Regions from separate parts of the Homo sapiens genome. Here region 1 is linked to region 2. The links are contacts of gene promoters, found by promoter capture Hi-C in blood cells and fetal thymus (Javierre and others, 2016). All regions are on one chromosome and are shown on one strand. Each heading gives the region's core, a stretch centred on a gene start or on the middle of the fragment in contact. The rest is flanking DNA. Distances are from core to core; before and after follow the strand shown. Region 1 holds the start of ZNF24 (zinc finger protein 24). Region 2 overlaps KIAA1328.

Region 1 (5,451 bases), core at 889-3,388, 1.5 Mb before region 2:
TTATCACAAAAGAGTAAAAAAGTTAAAAAAAAATGTAAAAGTTTGTAAGTGAAAAAGTTCCAGTAAGCTAAGGTTAATTATTGAAGAAAAATGTTTTCTTAATAAATTTAGTGTAGCCTAAGTGTTCAGTGTTTATATGGTCTATAGGAATGTACAATAATGTCCCAGGCCTCCAAATTCACCACTCACTCACTGACTTCTTAGAGCAACTTCCAATCCAGCGAGGTCCATTCATGGTAAGTGCCCTGTACAGGCATATCTTTTTTTTTTTTCAAACATTTTATATCATATTTTACTCTTATCTTTTCTATGTTTTGATACACAAATAGTTAGCATTGTGTTACAATTCTCTACAGTATTCAGTACAGCAACATGCCGTACCGGTTTGTAGCCTAGGCGCAATAGGCTATACCAGATAGCCTAAGTGTGTAGTAGGCTACGCCATTTAGGTTTGTGCAAGTACATTCTATGACGTTCACACAAGGATGAAATAGCCTAACATATTTCTCAGACCATAGCACTATCGTTGAGTTATGCATGACCTTATTTACTATATGGCCGCTTACAGAAAAAGTTTGCCAATCATGACCTACTAAGACGACAAACCCTATGTCAATAATCAAAAGAATCCAAGTAAGAACCAGACTACTTCAGTGCTTTCTAAATGTGCCTGACCCTGGAACGCATTATTTCCAATTCAGGATTGGTGTTTCCTGACACACACAAGTCAACTCAAAAGGAAGGTTCGCTTTATTATTATGTGCTTAAAAAAATTTTCTTTACCATTTAAAAAATATTTTTAAGGTGTTTAAGAACTCCTTGGACTTATATGTGAAAAAATGTTCACTTGCTGAGTAGCAGATCACATAATATTGAAAAGATCATATGTGAAAAACATCACATAATTTTGAAAAATTATCTTGCACATAATACGTAAATATTCAGTCTTCCACCACACCATACGTACATTTATATTTATAATGATAGGCATTAATCACAGAAACTTCTATTAAGAAAAGGCACTCGCATAAGCACCTTGACTTCCTGCAGTGGTCCAGTGTCTTGTCCTTACACTGGAGGACTCACAGTTTCCCCAGCTTCTACCTTCAGTGAAACTGTATACTGCTTCTGGACCTTTATTATTTGCACGATCATGCCCGTGCTGTTGTTTACGACACATACTAGCAATGAGCCATTCAGCCTATTTATTTATTCAGGGCCCAAAATCTGAACAATAACAACTTAAAAAAACTTATTGTAACCCAAGCAAGATGAAGACTAGAATCAGAAAAGGCCTTATCAGACAAGTAATACATACTGGTTTAATTAAATACCCTGGAGTGTGGTGGCCTTATACATAAGGTCTAGCCAACATTCATTCGTTCCTATTCCAAGACCCTGCTTATCAACGGTGCAAGTATTTCTACATAATTTTCTCTTCCTTTTATGCTGTAGAGCATACCGCTTGTGGGAAATGGAGGGAAGGCCCACGGTCCCGACAATGTTTGGGCAGGGTACCTCGTCCCAGGTGGATCGCCCACCTTACTGCTGCATAGACCTGCTGTGTATCCCGGCCCCGGCCCCGGCCCCGGCCCGACGTCCTCTAGCCCCTCTTCCCAGCACTCAGGACCGCGGATTTCAGATGACCAAAGGCCACCCTGTGACAACAGCGTCGGAACCACGGCACTTCCGCCTGCGGCCGGTGAGACTACAAATCCCAGAAGCCCCGCGCAAGTCTCGTCCCACTACCACCCCCTCCCATCACGACTCCCAGAACCCTCCGCGAGACGCCAGGGCCTCGAAATAGAACAAAACCGGCCGGTGGGGGAGGGGGAAGGTGAGGGTCTCGGAGGACACAGGGGGTTAGAGAGCTCTCTGCAAATGCCGAAGACCCAAGCAGGCCTGCCGCCTACCCCTCCCCGCCCCACAACTGCTAGGCGCGGAGACCGCGGCCTGTTCCCCGCGCCTCCCGGGAAGCTGAGGAAGGTCCCGGACAGGCTTCCCCGCCGGCTCCTGCTAAGAGGTCCGCAGACCCTAGCCCGGTGTCCCCCCTCCCTCTCATAACGTTCCCCGCACACCGGCGCAAACCTCCGGCTCAGGAACCGCAGCAGCTTCGCTGTCCACGGCAGACGCAGAAACGCCGTTCACAAGCCTTTTCCCAGAAGCCCCCGGCGCGGGCTGCTTCCGGTCTGCGGGCCTGAGGAGGCGGGGAGAGGTAAAGCCCACGTTGCCATGGAGAAGCGCCCCGGGCGGGGGAGGGGCGGCCCCACGACAATGACCGCATTGAGGCTGCGCTTGGCCTCGCGCCTCTCCTCGAACAGCCCAGCGTCCTCTGGACCGTTTAAAAGAAAACATAAAGAGGACTCTACCATTAAGATAGTCCTTACAATTTCGCAAGCCCTTTCACGTGCATTATCTTGTGGATCCTCTCAGTAATCCCCTGCAAGAAGGAATGAAAGTGAGTGTTTGTGAAAGCTTACTACATTGTGCCAGGCGCTCTCGTCGTGCTTTACATGTCATTTTTTTTTCCACAAATAAATGATGTAGGAACTTTCATTATCCCCATTTCACAGCTGAGATAGTTGAGGCACAAATACAGTAAATAACCTGACAAGAGCTCACAACTCATTTGTGGGTAGCAAGATTTGAAACCAAGACGTGATTCAAATCTTTGGCTCCCACTAGTTATGTCATGGAGCTTTATTCCGACCTATTTATCTGTCAGGAAAACTAGATAAGACAGGTTAAGAGTTTTGGCAGTGATGTCACGGTGAATTTGTAGAATGCATGGTCATCTTAAAGCTGGGCATTTTATACCATAAAACAACTGCTGACGCGATCATTTAAAATTACAAATCAGACCACTTCACTCCCCTATTTAAAGCCCTCCAATTTATGTCATAATAATTTATGACATAAAAACTCCTTATAATGGCCTGTAAGTCCCCTGTGGTCTGTTGCCTGCCCGCACCCCCAGACCCTGGCGCCCCCAGTCACCTCAGCTCCTCGGCTCATTGTGGCCCAAGATCCTCAGCCTCACCACCTGCCTTTCATGGCGCATGACCCTTCATGGCACTGTTATTAATGGAAGTGATCTCATTTATTTACTTGTTTTATTTTTTGTTTTGTTTTGTCTTTAAGTCCCTTAAGGGCAGGGACCTTGTCTGTCTTGCTCACCACAGTATCCCATCCTAGATCCTGGAAGCTGACTGCCTGGTAAATAGAGAACTCAATAAATATTTGTTGAATAAATAAATGAATTGTGGGATGGTTACATTGCTGCCTTTAGCTAGGTCACATGATTGGCATCAGACACCACACAAAGGAGCCCTGTTGTTTAAGGACTGGTCAAAAGTGTAGATCCAGCCTAACATAAGCATTTCAAGATCCTCAGGCTTTGACTTTTTGCCTCATTGGAGAAAATGCCCTCTGAAAAGTGCCGTCAGGCTCCGCTGGATTCGTGCATGAGAGAGCAAGTGAGCGAGCAGCTGATGGTATACCACTGCTTTTCATTCCGACCAGAGCTCTTCTCACAACCCCTGCTAACACTTCTCTCCATTGCAGGAAGCTTCAGAAGTACAGCCTTTTCACTCTGCTACTTGGATACGGCCCCTAAGCAACTTGGCTGCTCTTCCCAACCTTTCCCTCTTATCTGATTTGTAAAGGCTAGCTGAAGGCATTTTTGTTTTAAGAGTTTTTACATCTAATTAATGTTGGAAAACAAAAATAATAAATCTGAAACCTAACCTTGAGGAAGTTAAAAATGTTGCAAAATTTTACAAAACCCTTTTCCTGTGATTATATTGTTTGTTTTGTTTTTGAGACAGGGTCTTGCTCTGTCACCCAGGCTGTAGGGCAATGGTGCAGTCTTGGCTCACTGCAGCTTCAACCTCCCAGACTCAGTGATCCTCCCGCCTCAGCCTCCTAACTGGGCATTTTATACCATAAAACAGCTGTTGATGCAATCATTTAAAATTACAAATCAAACCACTTCATTCTCCTATTTAAAGGCCTCCATTTTATGCTGTAATAATTTATCTTGAAATGCTTATGGAAGGCTGGACTTACACTTTTGATAAGTCCTTAAACAACAGGTGTGCTCCACCATGCCCAGCTAATTTGTTTGTTTGTTTGTTTGTTTTTCAGAGATGAGTTCTTCCTATGTTTCCCAGGCTGCTCTCCAACTCCTGGGCACAAGTGACCCTCCTGCCTTGGCCTCCTAAATTGCTAGGATTGCAGGCATGAGCCACCGTGCCTGGCCTCCATTCTATTATTATTAATTATTTGTAAACTACTAAATGGAAACCACAGTAAGGTTTTCCTCACTAAGTTACTCCTTTGAGGGCAGGGGCTACTAACACCCGCTTTGAAACACCATCCTTCTGAGGTCCTCTGGGATTTTTTCCTGAATGGTGGCCCTTGTTGCCATCTTAAAGATCTAGTCAAGATAAAACATGTTCCTCTGGACAACCTGAATGGAGGGAGCAGCTTCATACCCGGGCCTGACAACCTTGCACATATCCACATAGGCCACATAGGCAATGCCTGAACCACAGCTGATCTGAGTCTTGGCAGAACACCTTGGGATCTTCCCAGAAGATGAGTGCATGAGAGGCTTGTAAGCAGCTAGTGCAAGGCCATTTCCCACTCAGCTCTCTGTCTTCCAAAGAGACTATCATGAGGCAGTTTCTATTGCTTCCTGGGTTCCAACGAGCCATTCTGCCTTACCCTCTTAGAGTACAGCTGCAGGTTATAACAAGGCTTAGCTGCAGCATGGCATTAACCCCTCAGCAACAAGGTGTCCACAGTGTATGCTGTAGTCATCCAGCCCCTTCTGTTTTGGTGTCATCATTTTGGTATCTGAGACAAAAGCTCATGGAGAGCTGGCACTTGCTTTTGCTTTCAATGTCTGTGCAAATAATAATATGTCTAAATTCAAAAAGGGTTCATTTCTTTACCAGCCAAATCTTTCAACCTTGCCTTGATACCAAACATCTGATTCATTAATTAATGGTAAAACGAACAAAATGACCAGACAGATACTACCTGGGTACCAGAGATAATAGAGATGAATAAAATGAAGTCATGATTCCGTCTTTGTTTTTCCCTTTAAAAGAGATGAGATCTCACTCTGTTGCCCAGGCTGGAGTGCAGTGGCATAATCACAGCTTGCTGCAGCCTGGAACTCCTGGTAGGGATCCTCCCGCCTCAGCCTTCTAAAACGCTAGGAGTACAGTTGTGAGCCACCATGTCCAGTTTGATTCCTTCTTTTAACATTACCATCTTGTTAAGGAAATAAACAACAACAACAGAAAAAAACAAGTATTCACAAGGCAGTGTAGAAGTGCTACAGTAGAGAAAAGCAGAAGGCCTGTAAGGGCTCCTAAATGAGATAGTGTGCTAAGAGGGAAGGGAGGCACCCTGAAATGGAGGAAGCCAGCCAGAAAAGTT
Region 2 (4,940 bases), core at 168-2,667:
CGGCCGTCTCTACTAAAACTACAAAAAAAATTAGCCAGGTGTGGCGGCGGGCACCTGTAATCCCAGCTACTCGGGAGGCTGAGGCAGAGAATTGCTTGACCTAGGAGGTGGAGGTTGCAGTGAGCTGAGATCAAACCGCTGCACTCCAGCCTGGGTGGCAGAGCGAGACTCTGTCTCAAAAAAAAAAAAAAAAAAAAGTTTTGTTTGCATATTTAGAATCACAGAAATATAACATATAAGGTTGTTGGACAACACCTCATAAAATTAAATCAATACCAATTTTATTCTTTCATAGATGGAGCCAGACATTCTTTTATGTTTGAGGGTACAACACTGAACAAAATAAAACAAAAATCATTACCCTCTTGGTGCCTACATTTTAGTGAGATGAGATCAGGTCATGAATAAGGAAAATATATGTTCAATGATTTTTTTTTTTTTTTTTGAGTCAGAGTCTCGGTCTGTTGCCCAGGCTGGAGTGCAGTGGTGCCATCTCAGCTCACTGCAAGCTCCGCCTTCTGGGTTCACACCATTCTCCTGCCTCAACCTCTGGAGTAGCTGGGACTACAGGCACCCGCCACCATGCCCGGCTAATTTTTTTTTTTTACATTTTTAGTAGAGACAGGGTTTCACCGTGTTAGCCAGGATGATCTCGATTTTCTGACCTCGTGATATGCCCACCTCGGCCTCCCAAAGTGCTGGGATTACAGACGTGAGCCACTGCACCTGGCCTATGTTCAATGATATTGGTGCTGTGGAGAAAAAATAAAGCAGGAAAGAGGCAGATAGTAGCGGGAGGTAGGTAGGTTGTGGGAAGAGAGAGTTTTGCAATTTCAAGTACCTATATGGTTAGGAAGTGAAAGCTTCAATCAGAAGGTGACATGACATGACATATGACATAAGTCCTAAAGTGAGCCATGAAGATATTTGAGGAAAGAGCTTCCTGGGTAGAAGAAATCATACCTGCAGAAGCTATAAGGTAGGAGCTTGCATAGCTTGTTAACAATTATAAGAAAGCCAGGAATGAGTGAGAGGAATAGTAGCAAGTGAGATCAGAGATGTAACAAGTTACAGGGATCAGATCTTGAGCATTGCAGGCTGTTGTTAATACTTTGGCTTTTAATCTAAATTAGAAATGACATAACTATTAAAATGATCATTCTAACCACTGTGTGAAAAAATAGGCTGTTAAGGGAACATGCACAGAAGTGACAGAGAGCAGTTAGGAGCTTATTGCAATAATCCTGGGAGAGGAAAAGTTGAGTTGGATCAAGGTGACAGTTGAAAACAGTGTGTTATAATCATAGCCTTTCTAAATTTCTCCTTTTGAAATTCAAAATAGTTCTTTTTGTCTTAAATTTCTTCTACTTTTTAAATAGTAGGGCTTCTTGGGATATTTTATGAATACACTGTAGAAGAATAAATAATGTCTTTGTGTTTGCATGATTGACTTGCCCTCAGTGTTTGTTCTTCAAAGCTAAAGTCTATCTTGAAATTATTTACTCTTCAGAATTGTCAGTTCCTCAGTAATGACCAAACTGGAGCACTTAAGTTTTTGTTTACAAAAGGAAAGGAACCTAATAGTAGAGTATATATTGCAGGGTAACCCACTTGAGAGTGGATAAAAGTTTCATGGAACAAGACCTTCCAAGATTTTTATAAGATGTGTAGTTGTGAATATATAAAGGTGAACTTTTAGAGAATATTAATTTTGCTACATTTAATTCAATTACTTTGCTTTCTAACTTTGTTTTTAATTCAATTACTTTGCTTTCTAACTTTGTTTTTAAAAGTTAGTTACAAATTCCCAGGTCAAAAGAAATTATGAATTATAAGAGGTATACAGAACAGAAGCAGCATTTGGATGCCGGATAATATTATTGTATTTTCCTTCATGTTCTCCTGCGTAGTTTCTGATGAAGAACAATCAGTAGTATACGTTCCAGGTATGATTTTCTATGTTAAAATTTGGGAAGCTTACTTTGGTCCTTAAATGTTAGAAGAAAATAAAGCTATTAGAACAATGTTGCGGGTATAAATAACTGAATGCAGAGCAGTACATCAAAACCTAAAATTTGTTTTTTTTGAATATTTGTCATAACCCTATTAAGGTTTGAAATACTGGCTTATCTTTGGGATTGGCTGGCCCAATCAGCTTTTAATGAACTTGTAGAACACTTCATGTGGCAAGGGGCAAAAGATTCTTTTCTTATTTTTTCTTTTACAAATGATAGCCAAATTTAATATTTCAAATAAAAGTGTGACTACTGCTTGATACAGGGTATATGTAAGAGGCACTTCAAGTTTAATGGTTGTAACTAGATGGTAGTAAAGCAACTATTGAAGGCACCCTCATTATATAGGGTGAAAAATATCATTGATTTCCCCTAAGTTAACATATATTTGGCATATCGTAATTTATTGGTTTTAATGTGACTTATGAATATTTACAGTACCCTTTACAAATATTTCAGTTAAGCTGGATGTGGTTGCTTGATCCTGTAGTTCCAGCTACTCCAGAGGCTGAGGTGGGAGGATTGCTTGAGCCCAGGAGTTCAAGTCCAGCCTGGATAGACATAGGAAGACCCTGTCTCTTTAAAAAAATAAATATAAAAACAAATTTCAATTCAATCTTTAGTGTATTTCTTTAAAACATATTCTTTTTATGATTCATATATTAAGAGCTTTAAAATTAAGTTTATAAAGTAAGAGAGTTTCCTCCATCAGGTCCCTTAAAGTAGAGGATTCCAAGGAAGGAGTTGATGGGGGAGGGTTTAAGATAATAAGGTATAATTTTGAAATCTTGTTTAATGGAAATCCTTAGGAATTTCTGCTGAAGGAAATGTCAGATCAAGACACAAGCTGATGAGTCCAAAAGCTGATGTTAAACTTAAGACTTCCAGGGTGACTGATGCTTCAATCTCCATGGAGTCCTTAAAAGGCACAGGAGATTCAGTAGATGAACAGGTTAGTATTTTTTTCGTCTTTTTTTTTCCTTGCTCTCCAGTCTTTATGAGTGCTGACCAAAAAGGGTAGAAGAACCTTTGAAAGTATACTAGGTGATCAACAAACATTCTTAAAAGATACAGAGGATTCCAGGATCCTTTGATGATGCCAGGTTTGAGCCTAAATTATCTGGATTACTCAAGGGTTTTGCTCCAAAACATCTGACTTGCTGTAAGCATTAGCCATGATAATGTATTATCTTGATATGTCTCAAAAGAACTACATTCTGATCTGTGTGGCATTGGTAAATCAAACTGATGAGAATTGCTTTTTAATTAGGCATCCTTTTTGATTTTTATTCTTGTGAATTTATTTGATAGATGAACCCTCGTAAAGATGAGGGACAAATCAATGACTAGGCATAGTAATAGTATCGGTGCATTCCTTTGGCACATGTCCTATCTGACCAGTTTATTTTACTTTAATTTTTGTTATATTTTCCCTCTGCAACCAGAGTTGTTCAATACCACTTCACACTCACTAGGATGTCTACACAAAACTTGTATATGAATGTTCTGGAATCTATAACCTGTGGACCAAATCCTTCTGCCTGTTTTATAAATAAAGGTTTTTTGGAATACAGCTGTGCTCATTGTTTTACATAATTGTCTATGGTTGCTTTTGTGTTACAATAGCAGGGTTGCTACAGAGACTGCATGCCCACAAGCTAAAAACATTTACTATCAGACCTTTTATAGAAAACTTTTTTCAGTCTGTGAATTATGTTCTCAAAGATATTTCCAGTGCCTCATTTATTACTACAGGATTTTACTGTGATTGAATCAAAAGGCCTACTTTACGTTACTTGTACCAGTGTACCCACTTCACACTGGGGTGTGAATAGTTGAATTTGCAAGTTCTTATCAAAAAAAGTTAAAAAATGTTTTTTCACATAATGGTTGATTTGTTTTACATTGAACAATAGCCTTCTTTTAGATTAAGTTCATATTTTTGTCCTATTGGCTATAACTTTTGATTGGATTATTTCAGTGGCTTCTTTAGAGATTATAGTATACATCTTTCATTTATCATAGCCTATTATCAAGTGATATTTTCCCACATTACCTATAGTTTAAGGACCTTTCAACACTGTACTTTATTTCTCACCTCCTGACTTTTTTGATATTGTTGTCATACATTTTACTTATGTGCACAGACCCCAAAATACATATTACATTTGCTTTAGTCAACTCTCTTTTTTTTCAAATTGAGATATAATTTGCATATAAAATTCACCTTTTTAAAGTGTACAGTTTATTATTTTGATTTTGTATGTGTTTATATTCACAGAGTTGTGGATCCATCACCACAATCTAGTTTCGAAACATTTTTATCACTCTAGAAAGAAACCCCATACCAATTAGGCACTTCTCATTCCCCAGTCATCTCAGCCCCTAGCAAACACTAATCTGCTTTCAGTCTCTATAGATTTGCTTGTTATTGATGTTGCATATAAAAGGAAATCACATAATATGTGGCCTTTTGTGACTGGCTTCTTTGATTTAGCATAATGATTTCAAGGTTCATCTATTCTGTATCATTACTTCATTCCTTTTTATGTCTGAATATACATTTTGTTTATCCATTTATCAGTCAATGGACATGTTCAACTTTCTAGCTATTATGAATAATTCTTCCATGATCATTCATATACAAGTTTTTGTGTAGACATATATTTTCAGTTCTCTTGTGTATATACCTATAAGTGAATTGCTGTGTCGTGTAGTTTTATGTTTAACCTTTTGACAAAATTCCAAACTGTTTTTTAAAGTGGTTACACCATGTTACATTCGACTAGCAATGTATGAGGATTCAGATTTCTCCACATTCTTGCCAACATTTATGTCCATCTTTTTTGAGGATGGCCACCCTAGTGGGTGTGAAGTGGTAATTCAATGTGATTTTGATTTGCATTTCCTTAATGACTAAATGAT

Evidence for each region. Contacts are between HindIII fragments. The CHiCAGO score rates a contact against its expected background, and 5 or more counts as called.
Region 1: the fragment with the promoter of ZNF24 here is called in contact with a fragment that was not itself captured in region 2 in 1 of 17 cell types (non-activated CD4 T cells); the score reaches 7.8 in non-activated CD4 T cells.

What each region holds. Positions count from the first base shown.
Region 1 is chr18:35,342,282-35,347,732 of GRCh38, forward strand. It overlaps ZNF24 (zinc finger protein 24), which reads right to left and starts at 2,139. Exons shown (of 4, transcript NM_006965.4): 1 at 2,079-2,139. It overlaps LOC124904283 (a long non-coding RNA gene), which reads left to right and starts at 1,773. Exons shown (of 2, transcript XR_007066337.1): 1 at 1,773-2,458; 2 at 4,147-5,451. RefSeq lists an enhancer at 1,457-1,516 and a silencer at 2,197-2,366. The HindIII fragment of the contact is 2,541 bases long and covers 1-2,473 here.
Region 2 is chr18:36,832,410-36,837,349 of GRCh38, forward strand. KIAA1328 reads left to right here. Exons shown (of 10, transcript NM_020776.3): 2 at 1,911-1,946; 3 at 2,825-2,967. Among named protein-coding and RNA genes, the nearest start is that of KIAA1328, 5.8 kb to the left of the region's middle. The HindIII fragment of the contact is 1,113 bases long and covers 862-1,974 here.